Regions from separate parts of the Homo sapiens genome. Here regions 2, 3 and 4 are each linked to region 1. The links are contacts of gene promoters, found by promoter capture Hi-C in blood cells and fetal thymus (Javierre and others, 2016). All regions are on one chromosome and are shown on one strand. Each heading gives the region's core, a stretch centred on a gene start or on the middle of the fragment in contact. The rest is flanking DNA. Distances are from core to core; before and after follow the strand shown. Region 1 holds the start of ODF1 (outer dense fiber of sperm tails 1). Region 2 overlaps UBR5 (ubiquitin protein ligase E3 component n-recognin 5). Region 3 overlaps UBR5 (ubiquitin protein ligase E3 component n-recognin 5). Region 4 overlaps UBR5 (ubiquitin protein ligase E3 component n-recognin 5).

Region 1 (2,570 bases), core at 38-2,537:
GCATGAATGTATTATTTATTTAACCAGGGACAGCACTTTCAACCATCTTTTTCATCAACAGTAACAGACTAAATGGCATATGTAAAAAGTTAGAAAAGGAAAGTTTTCTCCAGGCAAAAAGAAAATATAATCTAAAACAAAAATTTTTTTAAAAAACTGACTCTTTTTAATTACCCAATTCAATTAAAAAGCCTTTCAAGTCTATCCTGAAAGCTACAACTCAGTGCCATAGTTTATTTGCAAGACCTTTGCTAGAGTTAGAGGGGAGGCCAACATGATAGACCTAATTCCAGATACAAGGTAAGTCTTTGCCTGGAGTGGGGGGATAGGAGAATGATATTCCCACAAAACCAAGGCAATGCCTCTACTGTTCAATTTGCTCTCCTGCTTGTAAAGCCTCTGGCACACATTAAGGATTTGATCTATTATTATTACTTCTCCTGTAGTCATTTCTGTAAGTCCAAATATACTCAAATCACTTTACTCATAACCAGGAAAAATGTTTAGTTTGCTGCTTCCAATGGCTTTTTAATGACACCCCCTGTTTCTTCCCTTCATTAAAGCCGCATTATTTATCATACTGGCATTCTTGCTATAAACCACCGACGACCTTGCCAATCGACATCATTACATTGTCTTTTGAGAACCCTACAATTCCCATCATGGACTCATTTACTCTTCTTTCCTTAAATCTTTCCTAAGTCACCAGGGTCATTATCCTGAACCCTTTTAATCTTTGTTCAACTATTGATTGTCACATATTTTTCCTTATTCCAACTTATAAGGCTAATATACCGACTATAAAAATTTAAAAATAAGTTATTTTACTTGGCAAGCTCTCGCTTCTCATCTTCTATGGCTCTGATGGCTTTCCTCTCCAAACTTCTGAGAGATGGTCGCAGACAGTAAAGCTTATAATCACACAGGCAACATGGGTAGAGATCACACAGGCCGCAAGAGCGTGATCGCTTGGAATAGCACAAGCAGTACGGATATGGGTGCAAGTCACAGCAGCAATAGGGGTGCATATACAAGTCGCACAGGCACCGTGTGCTAAATTCGTCGATGCATCTCAGTTGCCTTAGTTCTCTGTCCACCTTCTTTATGTCCCTTCTGACACTGTCCAAGAGACAACTCAGTGCAGCCATTATGGTCACACCTGATTGTTCTGTGAGTACCTTTGGGAAATGGCACTCCGGGAAAAAATTTGTTCTAAGCCCTTCTCAGAAGTTGCTTTTAAAAATAAATGAGGCACACATGATTCACTTACTTTAAAGCTTGTGTTCTATGACCTCACCACCTTCTGAAGTATGTCATAGTCTTCTGGTTACCATGTGAACTGTACACAGTCATGGTCTCCAGAGACCATCCTCAGAGTTACAGAGCTACTCTCAGAACCATACTCGTGTTGAGATTTCACTCACCTTCAAGGAGGATGGGTCTCCCAAGCGAGCATAGCTCATCGGGGTGCATGGGGCTGGCCACTAACATCCTTGCCTTGTGTGTGCTCTGGGGACCAGCCATGGCTATGACTGTGTGTTTGTTGAACTTGGTGCAGGCGAAGGCAGGAGCTGCCCACGCCTTTCTCCATGACCTTCTAGCTCTAGCCTTGATTGGAAGCTTGGCCTTGCTCCTTTTGTTCTAGAATTCATTCTGTCTCCAGACAGGTAGAATATAAAGAATGTTCTCATCATTCTCCTCCTACCAAGTCATCCTCAAGTCAGCCATTGTCCTTGACCTTCTGAGTTACAAGTCTCTGAGTCCTGCCCATTCTGCGCCAGCTGTGGTCATGGCTGTTCGGGAACCTCATTTCTCTACTGGTTGGGGGTCCTGTCCTTAAGCTCCCATCTGTCAGTCCTCGGGGGCCTGTCCTGGGGAACTACCTCCCATCAACTACACCTTTGGTCTTGCATCCAAGCCTCCGGATGTCTTGTCCCTGAGTGCTTCCCAAATGTTGGTCTTTGATGTTCTTGTAGCCAACCGCCTGAAGATGCTGGAAGCCAACTGCCTGAAACCCCCGCTTCGGCCAGTTTCCTTTACTTTCTGTTCAGTTAACATCCTAGACCTCTGATTCGGCCTCAGATTTGGCTCTCGGTGCCTCTACTCCTCTGGTCCTTTCACCTCAAACTGCGGTCCAGCTCTCGAGTCTCCCTTGTATGAACTAGAGCTCAGGTATTGATGACAAGTGGTTGGATGTGACACTGGTGAGGGAGACAAGGGCCAGGTTTGAAGGGACCTGTAGCCAGACTAAGGACTCTGAACTTTATTTTGAGCCCAACGAAGGATTGTTGATTTTCTTTTCTTTTGTCAGAAGTGAGACAGCCACACTGAAGGTAAGTTGCTAGGGACAATAGTAGTGGGGTTTTCTGCTGCAAGACAAGAAGAGACAACAAAAATCTGGACTGGGGATCATGGCTATGGGGATGGCAAGGAGGAAGCCAATGGGAAAGCCTTCCCCCACCTCTGCCCAGGCCCCATCTAATCCATTTTCCACATTGTAGCCACAGCGACTTTCATATAGAAATCTGTCATTCCTCAACCTTCCCCACCCATCATCCCACTCACCTTAA
Region 2 (2,570 bases), core at 42-2,541, 240 kb after region 1:
AGTGATTATCGTGTAATTTAAGTGTTTGAGCAAGGCATGCATAATGTTGTAGGAGCACAAAGGGGAGAGATATAAATCATACTGTGACTGTACCAAAGACTTCTTTAAGAAGCGATACCCGGACAGATCAGATAGGCCCCTTAGACACAGGGATGGAGTTGGGAGGTATTATCCCAGGCACCAAGAGCAACCTTTGTGAATCTTATTAATAAGTTGGGAGAAAGTACTTTTTTTTGATATGACCAGAATTCTGGTAGGGATCCTGTGGGTCAGTGAGTAGCAACTGAAAAGGCTGGAGAGGGGCACTAGGGTGTTTGTGTGTTCACCTAACGCTACCTAAACTTCAGCCTGAAAGCGAGGAGGAGGAGGAGGATTATAAGCCAGTGAATGACGTGCTTTTGATTTTTTAAAAAAGATCAGCAGTGGCTGGTGGGTGTTTAGAGAGCAGCTGATAGATATCAGAAGTTTAGAGATCAGATAAAAAGGTTAATGTAGGCTGGGCGTGGTGGCTCACGCTTGTAATCCCGGTACTTTGGGAGGCAGAGTGTGGGGTGGATCACTTGAAGTCAGGAGTTTGAAGCCAGCCTGGCCAACATGGTGAAACCCTATCTCTACTGAAAATACAAAAATTAGCCCGGCATGGTGGCGCACGCCTGTAATCCCAGCTACTCAGGAGGCTGAGGCACAAGAATCACTTGAACCCCGGAGGCGGAGGTTGCAGTGAGCCGAGATCGCGCCACTGAACTCCAGCCCGGGCAACAGAGCGTGACTCCGTCTCAAAACAAACAAACAAACAAACAAAAAACATTTTAAAAAAAGGGAAAAAGTCAGGCAATAATCCAGGTTAGAAACAAAGTAAATGTCAACTTTTGGAAATGAGGAAGGAGGGGATGGATTTAAGAGATCTTAAGAAACTAGAACCTGTAAAGCTTGGTAACTGGATTTTAGCAGTGAATGAAAGAATTAATAAAGCTTCTGATTTGGGCATGGTTGATGGTAGAGAAGAAATATAGGAGGGGGAACAAATGGGATAAGGGAAAAGGATGAATTTAGTTTTAAACATGTTGTGGTTTGTTGTGATAGAGTATTTGTTAGATGTGGAGACAGTGCATTAGAAGCTATTGGAGCAATTTCAGCCGAGATTGACCTGATATCAGTGAACATTTTAAAAGGATTCCTTATGACGTGCTGAGAGTACTAGGGTGAAAGTGAGTAAATAGGAGTGCCAGTTAGGAGGATATAATAATAATCCAGGTGGGAGATGATAGTGACTTACCCAGGGGGTGGAGTTAGGAGTGAAATGTGACTAGATTCTAGTTACGTAGTCATGTGTTGCTTAATGACAGGGATACATTCTGAGAAATACATTGTTAGGTGATTTCATTGTTGTACAAACATCACATAGTGCACTTACATGAACCTAGATGGTATAGCCTATTGCTCCTAGGGTATAAACCTATATAGTGTATTTCTGTACTGGATACCGTAGGCATTTGTAACACAGTGATAAGTAGTTGTTTACATAAACATAGGAAAGGCACAGTAAAAATACGGTCTAAAGGATAAAAAAAAGGTGCACCTGATAGGGCATTTAGCACAAATGAAGCTTAGAAGATTGAAAGTTGCTCTGGGTAAGTCAGTGAGTGAGTGGTAGGTGAATGTGAGGGCTTATGTTATTACTGTACACTGCTGTAGACTTTATAAACACTGTACACTTAGGCTACACTAAATTTTTTTTAACCTTTTGATTTGTTTGTAATAATAATATGCTTAAAACACATTGTACACAGTCGGGCATGGTGGATTGTACCTGTAATCCCAGCATTTTGGGAGGCCAAAGTGGATGGATCCCTTGAGGCCAGGAGTTTGAGGCCAGCCTGGGCAACATAGCGAAACCCTGTCTCTACAAAAAATACAAAAATTAACCGGGTGTGGTTGTGCCTGTAATCCCAGCTACTTAAGAGGCTCAGGCACGAGAATCGCTTGAACCTAGTAGGTGAAGGTGGAGGTTGCAGTGAGCTGAGATCATGCCACTGCACTCCAGCCTGGGCGACAGAGTGAGACTCTGTCTTACACACACACACACACACACACACACACACACATTGTGTAGCTATCTAAAAAATAACTTTCTTTCCTATATCCTTAAGGGTTTTTTGGGGGGGAGGGGCAGAGTTTTCATTTCTTTCTTTCTTTCTTTTTTTTTTTTTTAAAAAAAAAACTTTTAGGCTTGGGAGTACATGTGAGATTTTACTGCAGGGTAAACTCATGTACAGGGTTTTTTGTACAGATTGTTTCATCACCCAGGTATTAAGCACTTTTTCTATATTTAAAATTTTTTACTGCCTTTTTAAAAAATGTGCAATTTACAATGCCTTCTTCTGTAATACCTCCTGAAGGACCTGCCTTAGGCTGTTTTAGTTAACTTTAAAAAAAATAGATAGAAGAAGTACATTCTAAAGTAACCAAAGAAAGTATAGTAAATACTTTAGAAATCAGTGACCTAGTTTTATCATTATCGAATATTATACTGTACATAAATTGTATGTACTGTACTTCTATATGATTGG
Region 3 (2,570 bases), core at 32-2,531, 190 kb after region 1:
GTCTTGCTGTGTTGCCCAGGCTGGTCTTGAACTCCTGGCCTCAAGTGATTCTCCTGCTTTGGCCTCCCAGAGTTTTGGGATTACACGTCTGAGGCATTGCACTCAGACACTTTTATCTAAAGTTTATATACTGTTAAACTAAAGAAACCATATACAAATTTCAAGTCAGGTGCTTTTACTCATTTTATACCTTGATTCTTGAATGGCCAGATTTTCTGAAAATACCCAGTTAATGATTAGATTATGCTACTTCAGTCACCACGTGTTTGAAGGCTGATCACAGAAAACTAGAAGCAATGTAACTAGTTTCAAAATATAATTAAATGGAGGAGGAAGTGTTTGGCTTTTTTCCCTCCAGACCACAAATTGGTAGGTAAAGTAAAAGTTAGATTTGAAAATTGGGCCTGGGTGTGGTGGCTTACACCTCTCAGCACGTTGGGAGGCCAAGGTGAGTGGATCTGTTGAGTCCCAGAGTTTAAGACCAGCCTGGGCAACATGGCAAAATGCCATTTTTACTAAAAATACAAAAATGTAGCTGAATGTGGTGGCGCATGCCTGTAGTCCTAGCTACCCAGGAGGCTGAGGTGGGAGGATCATCTAAGCCCAGGAAGTTGAGGCTGCAGTGAGCCATGATAATGCCACTGTATGCCATCCTGGGCAATGGAAATGAGAGACCCCCGTCTCAAAAAAAAAAAAAAAAAAGAAAAGAAAAGGGTTGTGGGGGGGATACCAAAATGATTACTTTCTTTGCGTTTGTGTTTTCATGCTGAACTAAATTTATTTTAGAATGTGAGGAAAGTTTTTAGTTGAGTACATCCTTTAGCTATACTAAATATAGCTCTTGTCTTTATTAAAATGTTATATGTGCTCTTTTAATGGTCCTAGGCACACAGTATATGATAAAGAATTCTGAAAATAGCATGTAATAACATGAAATTTTATTTCATGTGATAAAACTGAAAAATTTTTGATTATATTTAAGAATAAGTATTACCGGTTATACTGTTGCCAAATAGTACCTTTCTTAAAGATGAACATTTTTTTGTTTAGTTTAAGGATCAGTAAAGTATAGCCTGCATGCCAAATCCAGCCACCCCAGTTTTTATTGAAAGACAGCCATACTTATTATCTGTGGCTGTCTTTGTACTATAACAGCAGAGATGAGTAGTTGGGACAGACTAGCCTCCAAAGCATAAACTATTTATGATTTGGCCCTTTACAGTAAAAGTCTGCTCATCCCAGGTTTTGCTTATCAGTTTATATACTGGCATTTGTTCCTAATCCTATACTCTATTTAGTTTTTATTTTTTAATTTTTAATTTTTTTTGAGACAGAGTCTTGCTCTGTCACCCAGGCTGGAGTGCAGTGGCACAATCTCGACTAACTGCAACCTCCGCCTCCCGGGTTCAAGCAATTCTCCAGCCTCAGCCTCCCAAGTAGCTGGGACTATAGGCGCGTGCCACCACGCCCTCCTAATTTTTGTATTTTTAGTAGAGACAGGGTTTCACCATTTTGGCCAGGTTGGTCTTGAACTCCGGACCTCAGGTGATCCACCCATCTCAGCATCCCAAAGTGCTGGGATTACAGGCCTGAGCCACCGCACCCAGCCTACTCTTATTTATTTTTAAATTTTATTTTTCATTTTGAAATAATTTGACCTTATAAAAAGTTTGCAAAAATAGCACAAATAATTTATGTGTACGTTGCACCCAGCTTCCGTGTTAATGTTTTACATTTACATAATCATATTATCAAAACCAAGAAATTAACATTGATCACTGATTAATATACAGAGTTTATTTAAGTTTCTCCAGTTGTCCACTAATACCCTTTTGTCCAGGATTCAGTCCAGGATCCCAGTTGCATTGAGTTGTCATGCTGCTGCTGCTGCTGCTTTTTTTTTAAATAGAGATAGGATCTTGTTCTGTTGCCCAGGCCAGAGGGCAGTGGCACAATGATAACTCACTATAACCTTGAACTCCTGGACTTAATGCAATCCTCCTGCCTCAGCCTCCCAAGTAGCTAGGATGTAGGTATGGGCCACCACCACACCTGGCTAACTTTTTAAAGTTTTGTAGGTAATTTTTAAATTTTTTGTGGAGACAGGGTCTCTCACTATGTTCCCTAAGCAGCCATGCTTCTTTAGTTTCCTCTAATCTGGGCCAGATCCTCAGTCTTTATCTTTCTGGCCATGATGAGTTTGAAAAACCAGTGGTTATTTTGTAGAATGTTTGGATTTGTTTATCATTTCTCGTGATTAAACTCAAGTGATACATTTTTTGCAAGAATACCACAGAAGTGATGATGTGCCCTTTTCAGTGCATCATATCAGGTGGCATGTGATGTTACTGTTGTTTTATTACTGGAAAGGAGGTGTCCTGTGATTAGTTAAGATGGTGTTTACCTGTTTCTCCACTATAAAGTTACTATTTTCCCATTTTTCTTTAATATGCATTTTGTGGGGAGATACTTTGTGACTCTGCAAATATCCTCTTCCTCATCATACTTTTGCTCACTGAGTTTAGCATTTATTGATGATTCTTTTTTTGTCTGAATCAGTTGTTACTGTG
Region 4 (2,570 bases), core at 32-2,531, 150 kb after region 1:
TGTTTTTCATAGAGATGGGGTTTCAGCATGTTGCCCAGGCTGGTCTCAAACTCTGACACTCAAGTGATTCTCCTGCCTCAGCCCCCAAAGTGCTTGGATTATAAGCATGAGCCACCATGCCTGGCTAAACATTCATTCTCTTAATAGGCTTATATTTCTAGTGATGTTTAAACTTGTCTTCATCTCCAGGAAATCCTTAGGTGTTTTCCTTAAGTGATTGTGTTTTTTCTGCTTATCAGGTATTCTGATTATTACATGTAGATTAGAGAATAATTGAGTAGGGGGAGTATGGGCAGTGGGACCTTTTGTTTCTGTAGTTGTTTTTTGGGGGAAGTACTTTTTTTTTTTTGCCTCCTATAGTCGCCAATAGAAGATTAACCCAAATTCCTGCTACCTGAGACGATTCCTGGTAGGATTTTGTCACTGCCTAGGGGATGCAGAAACAGAAATGAGTGACTTCTGTAGTGTAGGTTGGCAGGCCATGGTTTGCAGGTCAGAGATGACATGTGGACTGATTTTGTTGGCATCTGTTCATCTTTCTGCTACTTTTGAGAGCTGAGAGCTACTGAAGAGTACATACGACACTTGCCTGCAGAGACAGGAGTCAGTACTGTAGTACAGTACAGGAATTAGCAGCCACCCCATACCATCCCTGAATGTTTCTGGTTTCATGAAACTCTAGAGTGGCAGGGACTCGAGGACAGTTGGTATTTTGCTTTTCTCTAGGGTCTCTCTGCTCTTCAGAGGGCTCTGGGAATGTAAAAGCTTCTTCAATTGACATGTAGATTCAGTCTTTGTCTTCCTTTGGTCAATTTTAAGACATTATTGAGAGGTAATAGCATTTTTTGGGGATCGGGGACATGATATGGTTAAGCTTTTTTAAAGTAGAAGGTTTTTCGGACAGTTGAATTGAAATTATTGTATGAGTAACATAACCTAGTCAAATTGTAGTAAAATCATGGATTGTGGTGGCTTTTCCCAGTTAGGAGGTCTCTTGATTTAAAACAGTGCTTCTCATGGGATGGACCGTCATCAGGAGCAGCAAAACTTGAAGACCACTGAGTAAAAAGGCTCTTTTACCCTCTTTTCTTTGTCTTAACATTGATTGATGATGGCAAATAGGGCCAAACTTGCCAGTTCTTCACTGCCTCCAACCTTCCTTTTCCCCTTAGACTTACAGGTTTTATACCTGTCTGTTTGAGAATAGGGTATTTTCCTGTTCCTTGATTTTGTGTGTCTCTCTCTAAGCTAGAGTAGTTTATTTTTGTTCGCTTCTTTTTTTTTAACCACGAAATTGGAAAAATTTAGATTAAGTTACATAAATTCTAGGTCCTCTACACAACTGTGAGATACTGAAAGGATAGCTTTTTAAAATGCATTTCGGTGCTTGTAAGGTCACAGTCTAGTTGGGAGAAATGAGGCTCATCCATAGATAGTAGCACTATGAAAGACTGCTACAAGAGGTAGAGTTTGGGCTGTGTAAATATTTGCCATGCTATTGCTTGCACAGAGTTTGAGAACAGTGTTAGATTAGTTTTTCTTGTTGAGTAAATGCTTGTGTGCTTCTCATGTGCAAAAAGTGTGCTAGGCCAGGGATAGCTGGTGTGTTTCAATTGCCACACCAAACCGTCCTGAAACTTCGGGTTGAGACGTGTTTGGAACTTTTTCTGGCTCAGGGAGAAAGCTTGGAGAAGAGTGAGGTTATAGATTAGCGAGCTCAGGGAGTGGCATCAGGTGGGTATGCCATGTATTGTTTTTCTACCTTTCTTTTTTTTTGAGACAGGGTCTTGCTGTGTTGCCTAGGCTGATCTTGAACTCCTGGGCTCAAGCAACCCTCTTGCCTCAGCTTCCTGAGTAGCTGGGATTACAGACAAGTAGCTAGGATTACAGGTGAGTGCCACTGCACCTAGCTTGTTTTTCTAACCTTTTATTTTGAAATAATTACAGACTCAAAAGAAGATGCAAAATTGGTACAGAGGGGTACCATGGATCCATCACCCAACTTCCTTCAATGGTAACATATTATGCCAGATATTTTTGGCATCCATGTCAAAATACTAGAGATAGAGACATTTTCCCCATGTGCATTTTTGATTTTTTTTTTTTTTTTTTTTTGAGACAGAGTCTTGCTCTGTCACCCAGGGTGGAGTGCAGCGGTGCCATCTCGGCTCACTGCAACCCCCACCTCCTGGGTTCAAGCAATTCTCCTGCCTCAGCCTCCTGAGTAGCTGGGACTACAGGCGCCTGCCACCACGCCCAGCTAATTTTTTGTAATTTTAGTAGAGACTGGGTTTCACCATGTTGGCCAGGCTGGTCTCGAACTCCTGACCTCGTGATCCACCCGCTTTGGCCTCCCAAAGTGTTCGGATTACAGGTGTGAGCCACTGCACCCAGCCAAAAATTGTTTAAGATAACATAGATTTGAAGACATAGTTTAAAGAAAACTTTGCCTTTTTAGATGTGATTGTAAATTGATGAGATATAGGCTGGGCATAATGGCTCACGCCTGTAATCTCAGCACTTTGGGAGGCCGAAGCTGGCTGATCACCTGAGGTCAGGAGTTCGAGACC

The links. The method cuts DNA at HindIII sites, captures the fragments that hold promoters and counts their contacts. A CHiCAGO score of 5 or more calls a contact.
Region 2: a contact is called between a fragment that was not itself captured here and the fragment with the promoter of ODF1 in region 1, in 1 of 17 cell types (M0 macrophages). The highest score is 5.1, in M0 macrophages.
Region 3: a fragment that was not itself captured here is called in contact with the fragment with the promoter of ODF1 in region 1 in 2 of 17 cell types (M0 macrophages and M2 macrophages); the score reaches 5.3 in M0 macrophages.
Region 4: a fragment that was not itself captured here is called in contact with the fragment with the promoter of ODF1 in region 1 in 2 of 17 cell types (M0 macrophages and M1 macrophages); the score reaches 6.6 in M0 macrophages.

What each region holds. Positions count from the first base shown.
Region 1 is chr8:102,550,306-102,552,875 of GRCh38, reverse strand. It overlaps ODF1 (outer dense fiber of sperm tails 1), which reads right to left and starts at 1,287. Exons shown (of 2, transcript NM_024410.4): 1 at 829-1,287. The coding sequence starts at 1,148. It overlaps LOC124901998 (a long non-coding RNA gene), which reads right to left. Exons shown (of 3, transcript XR_007061039.1): 3 at 2,280-2,369. LOC105375684 (a long non-coding RNA gene) reads left to right here and starts at 2,248. Exons shown (of 2, transcript XR_928478.3): 1 at 2,248-2,333. The HindIII fragment of the contact is 343 bases long and covers 1,280-1,622 here.
Region 2 is chr8:102,308,573-102,311,142 of GRCh38, reverse strand. All of the region lies in intron 20 of UBR5 (ubiquitin protein ligase E3 component n-recognin 5), which reads left to right. Among named protein-coding and RNA genes, the nearest start is that of UBR5-DT, 70 kb to the right of the region's middle. The HindIII fragment of the contact is 634 bases long and covers 975-1,608 here.
Region 3 is chr8:102,356,903-102,359,472 of GRCh38, reverse strand. The region is part of intron 5 of UBR5 (ubiquitin protein ligase E3 component n-recognin 5); the gene reads left to right. Among named protein-coding and RNA genes, the nearest start is that of UBR5, 55 kb to the left of the region's middle. The HindIII fragment of the contact is 5,548 bases long and covers 1-2,570 here.
Region 4 is chr8:102,399,491-102,402,060 of GRCh38, reverse strand. All of the region lies in intron 1 of UBR5 (ubiquitin protein ligase E3 component n-recognin 5), which reads left to right. Among named protein-coding and RNA genes, the nearest start is that of UBR5, 12 kb to the left of the region's middle. The HindIII fragment of the contact is 810 bases long and covers 877-1,686 here.